Linked DNA regions of Homo sapiens: region 1 is linked to region 2. The links are contacts of gene promoters, found by promoter capture Hi-C in human tissues and cell types (Jung and others, 2019). All regions are on one chromosome and are shown on one strand. The core of a region is centred on a gene start or on the middle of the fragment in contact, and the rest is flanking DNA. Distances in the headings are between cores, read along the strand shown.

Evidence for each region. The method cuts DNA at HindIII sites, captures the fragments that hold promoters and counts their contacts. A contact is called where the count stands out against the background at its distance.
Region 1: a contact is called between a fragment that was not itself captured here and the fragment with the promoter of CEP68 in region 2, in 1 of the 25 tissues and cell types used here (hippocampus).

Annotation. Positions count from the first base shown.
Region 1 is chr2:64,110,722-64,116,021 of GRCh38, reverse strand. All of the region lies in intron 1 of PELI1 (pellino E3 ubiquitin protein ligase 1), which reads left to right. Among named protein-coding and RNA genes, the nearest start is that of PELI1, 31 kb to the left of the region's middle. RefSeq lists an enhancer at 1,819-1,898. The HindIII fragment of the contact is 4,307 bases long and covers 1,363-5,300 here.
Region 2 is chr2:65,052,672-65,058,065 of GRCh38, reverse strand. It overlaps CEP68 (centrosomal protein 68), which reads right to left and starts at 1,650. Exons shown (of 7, transcript NM_015147.3): 1 at 1,538-1,650. LINC02576 (long intergenic non-protein coding RNA 2576) reads right to left here. Exons shown (of 3, transcript NR_183398.1): 3 at 4,324-5,394. RefSeq lists silencers at 418-497, 508-557, 1,188-1,527, 1,608-1,717 and an enhancer at 1,818-2,057. The HindIII fragment of the contact is 11,141 bases long and covers 1-5,394 here.

The DNA.
Region 1 (5,300 bases), core at 2,267-4,766, 940 kb after region 2:
GTCCTCATTTTTAAAATAAGCACACAAAGTCCACTTTATTTACTGAAATATTTGTCGTTGGTCACTACCAGGAAATGGTTGACAAATACAATGAACATTGAGGAAGTGACAAAGGTTCAGATAATCTCAGCACTACTCATAATTGAATAGTTGTTACTAATCTATGCTGAAGTATAACTTTTTTACAGTTTATTTTACATGTGAATACATTCTAGTCTTCTAAATGGTCCTGTAATAGGGTCTTTTAGTCTGTTTAGGAATTAGCCCCATTCTACCTTGTCTAGGGTGTGGAGTAATGACATTAGAAAATCTGGACCACTTTACCTCTGGTAGCTTCAGTTTCTCCATTTATAAAATGGGGACAAATGATTGTACTTTATAGTTGTAATAGAAATTAAATGGGGTAATGTATGTTGAGTTAACATGTGGATCTCAGTCCTAGCTCTGCCAGAGTTCTTTGGCCTTCAGTCACTGGGCTTTTCTGACCTACTCAGTTCCCTTATCTGGAAAATAGAGTTCAGACTTTCCTACCCAATTCACAGGGCTATTATGGGGGTCAAATAAAATAATCTTACGTGAAAGCATTTGGCTAATTACCATTCTATGCAAGTTCAAGATAGACCTTACCCCAAGGTTGATTCAAATTGACACCCTCTGTTGACCTAAAAGAATTCTCCCATGCTTGCCAAAACCTGCTTTTAATTTTTCTAAATATGGGCCCCTTAGTCCAGAAGATACTTATCTAGCCTCCAAAGATTTGCCTTTCTCTAAACAGCAGGCTACCCAGCAGTAGCCTTATAGCTACTTCTGTGGCCACTCCAGCTCTAGTCGCTTTCCTTCAACCATTTGAGAGAGGTAGCCACAATATTAAAATATTTTAAATGTACAGAAACATTAATCATTAATTGCCATCAAGGCAAGATTCTCATTCTCACTCTCAGCCCCTATCAATTCTAGTAAAATACTGAAACTACACCCGCCTTCAACTACACGGCCTTTACTAACACAAGTCTTAGTATAAATAACCTTTTATTATCAGTATCAGTATAATGTTAGTAAGCAAACATTAAGTACCTTACTGTGTGCCAAGAAGTATGCCAAAAAAAGGGGAAATTTCCATCCTAAGAACAATGTATGTTGTCTTCAAGATTAGAGCAGTGGTTCTCACAAGGTAGGGGAGTGAGTAGTGGGGAGATAGGAAGTTGAGGCATTTTTAAAGTCACAACTAGAATGTTCTACTGGCATCTAGGTAGAACAGAAAGGCCAGAGATACTGCTGAACCCCCTACAATGCACAGGCCAGTGCCCCACAATGTCAAAATGTCAGTAATGCCCAAGTTGAGAAGCCCCAGTTAAAGGAACAAATACTGTCCCTAGGAAAGATGTTAACTCCTTTTCCATCAGGATGAAATAAGTTATCCCTGTAGGTGATATACTATCAGCATGCTATTTGGCTTCTCTAAGAGAGGAGGGTGGGAATTTACACAGGTGGTGTCCTGTATCTTGGGAAGGGGAACATAGACTTCACTTCCTCCACTGCTGTGTTGAGAAGCTAAAAGACACTAGCAGAAAGTAGTAACCTCCAACTACTACTGCACACCATTATTTCTCCTTTTATGTAAAAATGCTATGTGTTACTCCTGCTGGTTGCAAAAGAATGAAGAAGGTGATTAAATTTTCACTCTTATCAAGAAACTGCTATGAATTAAACTCCAGTCATCAGCTGAATTGGTTTCATAAAATGGTTCCACCGCAAACATACTAAAGCAGTTCTTTCTGTTTGAGTCATCCTTTTGAAATCAGCCACAAGGAAACTCTAGTATAGATGGAAATCTGTTTTATCTGAGATAATATATGCAGTCCACATTGTTTTTCATCATAAAAAAATGTTATAACATTTTCATGTTTTAAAACATTTTCCTTTTTTTCTCAGTACCCCATTATGCCTACCCACTTGCCCACTAAAATAGAAGTGCTCAGAAGATATGTAAACAATCTGCATAAGATTTGTTTTGTCCCTTGCTTAGTATTTGTTTTGCTTTTTTTTTTAGGGCAGGAATTTTGTACTTGTGTTTAGTAGGTAGTAAGCAAAAGGCTGTGTGTGATGTAAATAATGAAAGAAAACATTTGTTAGGTTGAGAGACAAAGATTGATTTCTCAGTTTTTCTTCTTTAGGTGAAACTGACAGATATTATACAAAGTCTTTCCTTTGGGAAGACTTGATATGAAAATAATTGTATTTCACTGGCCCTTAAAAAGGAAATGATTAGAATGTTTAACAGTCAAATTAATAATACTATTCCTAATAAATACATATTTTATGAGTAACTTTTCATGTTCTCCCAGCCCACAAAGAAAATAACACTATTCCAGAATATGTTTATTTTAAAATTTTTTTTTAACTCTGGAAGTTTAGTTCCTGCTAATGAGAGCAACATGCTTTCGAGTATCAAGCAAAGTTTCAAAGTAATAGATAAAATAGAAGACAGTTTTATTAGGAAGATTTTCTTTAGCATTTCTTCTAGTCTTGAGTAGAATTAATGGTGCTATTTCATGTTCTTGGTGCTAGATAACATTGGGATAGGGCTGAATACATGAGGTCAAACTAACTTAATTGAAGACCAACAAATGAAGCCAGTAATCGAGACATTCGGATGTTTTTTATGTACATACTCATTTAAAGTTCTCAAGTACATGACTTCAGGAATTTTTTTTTTTTTTTCTTTTTTTTTGAGACAGAGTTTCTCTCCGTCACCCAGGCTGGAGGATCACAGCTCACTGTAGCCTCAAACTCCTGGGCACAAGTGATCCTCCCACCTCAGCTTTCTGAGTAGCTGGGGCTATAGGTGCATGCCATGACATTTGGCTAATGTTTTCTGTTTTTACTTTTTTTTTTTTAAATCTTTTGTAGAGACGGGAGTCTTACTATGTTGCGCAGGCTGGTCTCAAACTCCTGGCCTCAAGTGATCCTCTCACCTTGGCCTCCCAAAGTGCTGGGATTACGGGCATGAGCCACCATGCCCAGCCTAGGAATTCATTTTGAAGAATTCTTTTACTCAGATTTTAAAATATAGAGAGAATATATAAAGACAGTGAGTAGGAAAGCATTGTCTAGGTACTGGTCTTTGTTAAAGAGTATAAACCTTTGGGAAGATCATGAATCTTTCTTCAGAGAACACATAAAAAAAAAAGTTCCAGGAAGAATAGCTGTCACAGCATTTTATTTGCAGTTTAATAAGGCCAGTTGTATATTGATTGATTATATGCCATTTTTAAATTTTGAAAACTATCTTGGGTCATTTATGTATATAAATAACTGGTACTACAAAAGTGTTTTATTTTGGGTTTAGATTATCAAATACAGAAGTAGAAGCCAAGATTGAATGTGTTCCTGTGATTGAAACTTTGATGTCACTGATAAAATATCCCCAGATAAGGCCTTCTAAGAGATCTAAGCAGAGTAAGAATATGTCTGATTGGAAATATATTGTTTTTCTTGGCTAATTTGACCAAGGGCTCTAGAAATTATATGGAGGGTATATGCCAGCCGTACTCTTGTTTTTTAGTTTCTTGTCTAAGCAAAAAAATTGTTCTTTTGCTATAGACGCAATAGAACTAAATCTATAGTGTTATGCACGTTACTTGTAAATTCTTATGTCAGGACCAAATGGTCGCTTATATTTTTTCCAGCTCCCAAATTCCCTTTATTCCACTTTAGTCCCTTCATTTTCAGAGATGAGGAAACAGATTGCTTTGTTCAAAGACAGCTAGAACTAGAACACAGGCTAATACTTGCTAGCCATGTGATATACTAATGTCAGCCAAATACGGGCATTTACACTTTCAGATGTTTGCCATATCTGTGCACTTACTAATTCTATTTAATACAATTTAAATTGACTCCTTTAAATAAGCTTATTTTAAAGGAAATTTTTTGCTACTATAAATAGAAAACCATTATATCCTTTAAATAGTAACTCTAAATAGGAATTCAAAACAAAGCAACGTTATTAAAATTTAATTTAAAATTAATTTAAATTTAATTGTTATTAAATTTTTAATTATTGCTGTTCTTCGTCAGAAATGTGTCAAAGCATTGTTTTCATGTTTGATGTCAGTTCCTTAATTGTCTAAACAGAAAAAGCACAGCTAATGCCTCTAGTTAAGCTTCTGTATAACTTTTTTAAATGAAATGCTTCTTAGAGGGGAAATGAGAGGGCATGAATACATGTTTATATACTAAAGTATGATTTCATGTATATCAGAAGATCTTATTATATGGAACCAAAATTATTCTTTGGTTGATTTAATTGTTCTTGAAACTTCAGTTTTTACCTTGAAGGTTTTAGTTAGCTTAGCATAAGTTTATTTTTCTAAATAAGGAATCTGATTGCCTCACAACTCAGATGTATCACAGTTATGGTGAAATAGCAATATATTGGTTTCTGTAACCTTTTAAATACCGTAATGAATTAAAATCTCTTCAGCAAAAGCAAATATATCTAGGGTGACGAGAGGTGTTTTTAGTGTATTTGAATGATGGAAATGTTTTTCTTAAAATATTTCTGAAGCATTTTTTAAAATAATTTTTTGAATTTATTGATGATAGTAGTTGTGTGTTAGTGTGAATGACTGGTCTAAATGTGTATGTCACTTCCAAGGGATTAGTAGGGGTCAGAATGATTTGTTTTATTCATTGACTTTTCCTTTGACGTGTTCTTATTCATTGGGCTACATACATTCCCTGTTGCCTTCTCACCAAAAGTGCCACTACACAGGCTGTATTTCATTGTACTGTAGAAAAAGACAAGTAGACCTTTTTCATTCATGAGATTCCTATGAAATCTGTTGGTGGAGGTATAAAATGAGGAGACTTTTATGGGCTAGCTAGTAGGAGTTTTGCTGTGAAACCTTTGTAACAGGTCTATCAGGAACTAGGGAGAGAAATAAATGCAGGAAATACTTGATCCCATTAAACTGAGGATGAAAAAGACATGATAATATTTTGGGGATTATTTATTGTGTGATTTTCCGGCTGATCAGAAGTGTTAATTTTTTGTTATACTTGTGTCAAATACATATATATATATATATTTTGAAATGGAGTCTTGCTCTGTCACCCAGGCTGGAGTGCAGTGGTGCGATCTGGGTTCACTGCAACCTCTGCCTCCAGGTTCAAGTGATCCTCCTGCCTCAGCCTCCCGAGTAGCTAGGACTACAGGCACGTGCCACCACGCCCTGCTAATTTTTGTATTCTTAGTGGAGATGGGGTTTCACCATGTTGGCCAGGCTGGTCTTGAA
Region 2 (5,394 bases), core at 401-2,900:
GAACTATATTAGGCACTATACATCAATATCTTATTTAATCCTAATAACTCACCACACAGGTACTACTATTATTCCCATTTTTAAGGATGAGGAAACCAAGGCACGGAGAAGTTAAATAACTTAATGACACGCCTGTAATCCCAGCACTCTGGGAGGCAGAGGCAGGAGGATTGCTTGAGCCCAGGAGTTCAAGACCAGCCTGGACAACATGGCAAGACCCCCATCACCATTAAAAAAAAAATTAATCAGAGTTAGTAACATGGCAGAGCTAAAGCCTGTTTGACTTAGAGAGCCTGAGCTTAGCTGCCTTCCTAACCTGTAAGAATAACTCGCTCAAGAAGTTAAATAAATGTTTCTGTTGTGTCACCTTTAGACTACCACGCTGATTTTGTTTCCTTTTGGCTTCCTTCCATCATTGAGTGCCTTTTATGTTCCAAGCATTGTGCTAGGGGCTGGGGAAACCACAATACAGTGTGATGAGTAAAAACAGAGGCTGCAGAAGGTAGCCCAAAAAAGGGAGGAGTTATCAGTCGCAGGGTGGGGAAGTGCTTTAAAAAGCTTTGCGCAAAAGAGGTTAAACTGAATTCCTTGGGTTTTTTGTTGTTGTTGTTTTCTAAGTGGGCCAGAATTGACTCAACAGAGGGTGGGAAAGGGGAATGGAGGGAACAAAGTAAAAAGTGGTGACTTCTAGATCTTTCAACTAAACCCAAGGCAAACTGACCCAACAACCTTTGTTACACACTTTAACACAACACTCTTCATACCCTAGATCTGAGAACTGTTAGATTATTTACAAACGCTACCTCCCTTCGTGGTCCTGATGAATTCCCAGTGAGGTCCAATCTGCCCTGGCAGGCTTCCGCTCATTTTTGTTACAAACAATACACTAAACCCAACCTACTAATCATCAAGGGCCTGGAACAGGTTTTGGACATTCGTCCCCAGGCTGCTGAGAACTGTTCTAGTGATGACAGTTAGAAAGGGTAGCCCTCCGAGGCAAAAAAAATGAGACATCTTGATTTTTTCTCTCCGCATCTGGGCGCGGCGATAAGAAGACATCACTGGTCTCCATCTTTCCAGGGGGAAAGGCCCGAGCTGCATTAGCCCCGACTGGGGAGCTGGGTAAACAGCCCACGCCCGGGAGAGGCCTGAGGGAAAGTGACCTCCCCCGGGGCCCAGGCCGACCAGCGGCGCAGCTGCTCGGCCGCCAGATGCGCGGACTCGCGCACTCCCTCGCCGCGCCCGGGCATTCCCAAGCCCAGCCGCCCGCCTCGGCCCCGACCCCTCGGCCGCCACAGCACACGCCGTTCCGCTCGCAAGATGGAGGCGAAGGCACGAGGCGCCCCCGCCCCCCAGGGAGCCTTTGTGCCCTTGCCGGCGGGGACGCGAGGCCAGACGGCCCGCACCGCAAGGGCCCCGCAGGCACCGAAGAGACGCGGGGGAGGGGGCCGGGCGCGCGCGCGGATCTAGCCCGGGCCACCGCCCCCAGCGCCGCGGCACCCCCGACACCAGCACCCGCACGCGGGACACTGCCTACCTACCGCACCGCGAACGCTTCGCACGTCCGGAGCGGTCTCAGCAGCCCCATGCGCTGGCCCCGAGCTGGCGGACCCTGACTGCAACTGCGGCCCTCCAACCGCAGCCCAAAACGCGCAGGGCAGGACCGAGCGCCAACCACGCCCTTCGGCCGCGCTGACCACGCCCTTCTTCCCGCCCCTTCTCCCTCCGCGGGAGGGCTTTCGGCAATTTCGCGCAGCGAATCGCAGCTCTAAGTCCGCGGCTCCACCAATACGTGGACGCTCCTGCAAGATGAGCCCGCCCCCTACTTCGTCCTGGCCTATGGGAAGCCGGGACTTCTTCAGCGGCTGTCCTCCCTCGCTTTTGGAGCTCCGACCTCAGCTTCGCCTGCGAGCTGGGTTGTGTAAAGGCTGGTCATTTTGGGGCGCTTAGGGGTGGGTGCCGGGGGGCGCGCTTTCCCTCGTGAAGGTCGCTCCAGGAGTCATGCGTACATTCGTTCATTTTGCTCTGGACGCACTGATGTTCCCGGCTCGCCGCCGTGCCGCAGTCACGAGGCTCTCCGAACGCCTTTCACTGTGTTTCTGTTTACATTCGCGTCTGCAAGACCCGGCGGCGCGACCGAGGCCCGAACAGGTGCTGCGAGGCGGGGCGGGGAGCCAGTGCTGAGGGGAGCTCCCCAGGCCGGGTGGTTGAAGACAGCTTCTGGGGGGAGGTGGAGCTCTGGCTCGTGGAGAATGGGAAGGGTGTGGAAAATGAACTGGTAGCTACTTAGCCACTCTGAGCAGCCTGCTCTGATGGGAAATCGGTGATGGAGTCGGAGGGAAGTGGGAGGCAGCTTGTGGGAGGCCAGGGTGCTCACTCTCTCCCCTGCCAGCATGGGACCTAGTAACTTTCATACATCTCTATCTATCTATCTATTTTGCAAAGATGGGGTCTTGCTGTGTTGCCCAGGCTGGGCTTGAACTCCTGGACTCAGACGATCCTCCCGCCTCGGCCTCCCAAAGTGCTGGAATTACAGGTGTGAGCCACTGCATCCCATCCCCTAGGAGCTTAATGACACTGCCCTTTAGCTTTTACTGCTTAGCAGAATCCGGAGGCATAGAGGAACTACCACCAGGGTGGCGTGGGGAAGAGGCCCTCCCTTCTGATGATTTTCTCTCAGCAGCACTTTCAGCAATCTGGCTTCAACTGAATATCTCCCCAGTTCATAAAACAGGCGTCTGTAAATGTCAACCCCAGCTGGGTGCAGGGTACAAATTTTTTCCTACAGAGCTCTTGAGTCCCAGGTAGTTTAGGAGACAAGGACTTGTTTGGTTTTCCCAGACCTGTCAGGACAGCTCAGAGGTTTTGTCTAACCCAGGGGCCACAAACTTTGGACAACAGCAGCAGCTAGCCCACAGATGGTTTTATTTGGGCATCGCATAGCTTTTCTTTGTTTGTTTGCTTTTGTTTTTTAATAAGAATTTGAATCCCACCACCACCACTGGTCCATTAAGTAACAGCCAGCCTTCACACATTTGCTGCCTACCTGAAGGCATTTGTGTTTGTGACCCTTGATCTTTTCTATACACAGAAGACCTCCAGTGGAGTCACCTAATCCCACAGCCAAGTCACCCCTGCTGGACAGAGAACTGTACAAAGTCCAAACAGGCGTACATATCCTGTATGGTTTCCTCATCTATAAAGAGAGGGGATAGGATGAAGGAGTCCCAAGGTTCCTTTTGGTTCTGATGTTCTGTAATTTTGTGTTGTGAGCAGCTTTTGTTTTTGCCTGACGGGAAAACTTTCCTTTGGGAATTGTCTGCAGTCCGCTGGGTCAGATGGTTCTTTAGCACCGCACTTCTCCGGTCTCCCAAGGCAGGATGGGTGTGGAGAAGGGGAGGTGTGGAACCCAGGCCTGACCAGCTGTAGTCTCCCTCCTCTTGTTTTCAGATTTCCCCAGGGATGCGCACATGACCAAACCTGAGATGATCTGAGCCCTTGTCGGGGATTTTAGAGAATGAGGCTGGGAGAAAGAGGCTCTTTCTTTTGGTGTTTCTGAGCGCGGGAAAAGTAGGCCTAGAGCTGTCTGTAGTTATACTCCTTGCAGCAGCAATGCTGGAGAACCAGGCCTGGAAATGTTAGGAACCAGCTAAGCCATCCTGCTTTGGTACTCTGATTAGGGTGCGTACCAGCTCCTTTGGTGGTGACATGAATTATTTTTCAACTCTTCTCACTTAAGATTCAAGTTTTGGGAAGGACCATTTACTTGGCCTAGTCTAGGTTATGTGCCTGTGTTCTGATTGCCAATAGGCAAAGAGAGTTCTGGTTTCTACTGTGGCTTCTAGTCTGGGAGGCCTAGCCTCATACCAAGACTCAGTGTGTGGGGGCCTCCCCTCAAATAAGAAGAATGAGACGCTGGGTTGCCAAAAGTTGCTTCACTATAGTCCGTCTCTTAGGCTGCCCAACATTCACAGAAGTGCTTTCAAAGGTAAATGAAAATGCTGCCATCCAACAAAATGCGAGCATCTCTCCTATAACAAAATTTACTTATCCCTTCCCCAAAGCAGGGCATCTCAAAATCTCCTCATTTACTGTATTTGGCCCAAGTCTAACTTCTGTAGGTGATGTTCCATTCTTCCTTTCAGTTTCATCATCATCCCATCCCATCGTTGTAATGTGTAGACTAAATTGTAAAGTTAAGCATCACTGATAGACTTTAGATACAATTGTGAAAAGAAAGGAAATGAAAGAAAAGGACAATAGCTAAAAACTCCATTTATATATAATACAGCAAGAAGGGAAATACTGTTAGAGGTTACGATCTTCATTTTTGTAACTGGTAATGAAGCTTTATTGTCATTTACAATTTTCCTTCTCCGCTAACCATTCCAGGTCCCTCTTTCCTTCACGCAACCCCTCAGCTGGCCAGGATTCTTTGCCTGGTTGGGTTAAGCAAGCTTTTGTTCTTGAGGAGGTTGCCTGTAGGTAGGTTGTCTGTAGTTTGTCTGTAGGTGGTACAGTACATTGCCATCAACTTGTGCCCTGGCATGAGAGTGATGAGGTGCCTCAGGAGATCTCCTGTGTTCTATTACTGCTCCTCTTGCCTCCGTGGTGTAACAGCAACCCCACTTCCTCCTGAGAGTCAAAATCAGTCACCAAACAACATGTGACCTGTGGCATGAGGAGACCACATCAATTTCAGTTCTCAGTTAATAGGAACCATTGTTGTAGGTTCTGGTGAAAGCATTGTACTAAAATATCTAAACCAGCTGGTTTGAGGAAAAGCAAAGTATAAATTTTGAGAAGAATCATTAGGTATGATTTGAGAAATACCACACCCATTGTTACCAGCAATGATATTCTGCTGTGGAAGAAACTATTGGTCATTGGTTCAGAGTTTTGTCTCCCAGTGGGCACTTGAACTAATTTTTTTTTTTTAATTAAAAATTTTGGTCAGCTGGTGGCTTCTTGCTTGGTGGCCAGGAGCCAGATTTCATTCTGGGCAGGAGCAAGGTGCAGCCAGTGGGAATGCAGGAGAGGCCAGGTGCGTGTTTTGGGACTTTCGGAGCAGCAGCCTGGGAACCAGCAGAGAAGATTCTGTCTTCCAGAGGTTGCCACTGTCTGCCAACTCACTTGTCTCCATCCTCAGTCATCTTTTAAAAGTACATAGCGACACTCTAGCTGTCTGGTTCTTCATGGGGAATGTAATTGAAGTCTGACATCATTCCTATTGCCCTGAAGTCTGAAACTTAGTGTCATTCTCACTGAAAATTGCCTTGGAGTTTGACAAACTCTTTCCCCAGTGATATTGACAGGTTGTTTTGTTTTTGTTTTTGTTTTGTTTTTGAGACAGTGTCTCACTCTGTCACCCAGCTGGGGCTGGAGTGCAGTAGC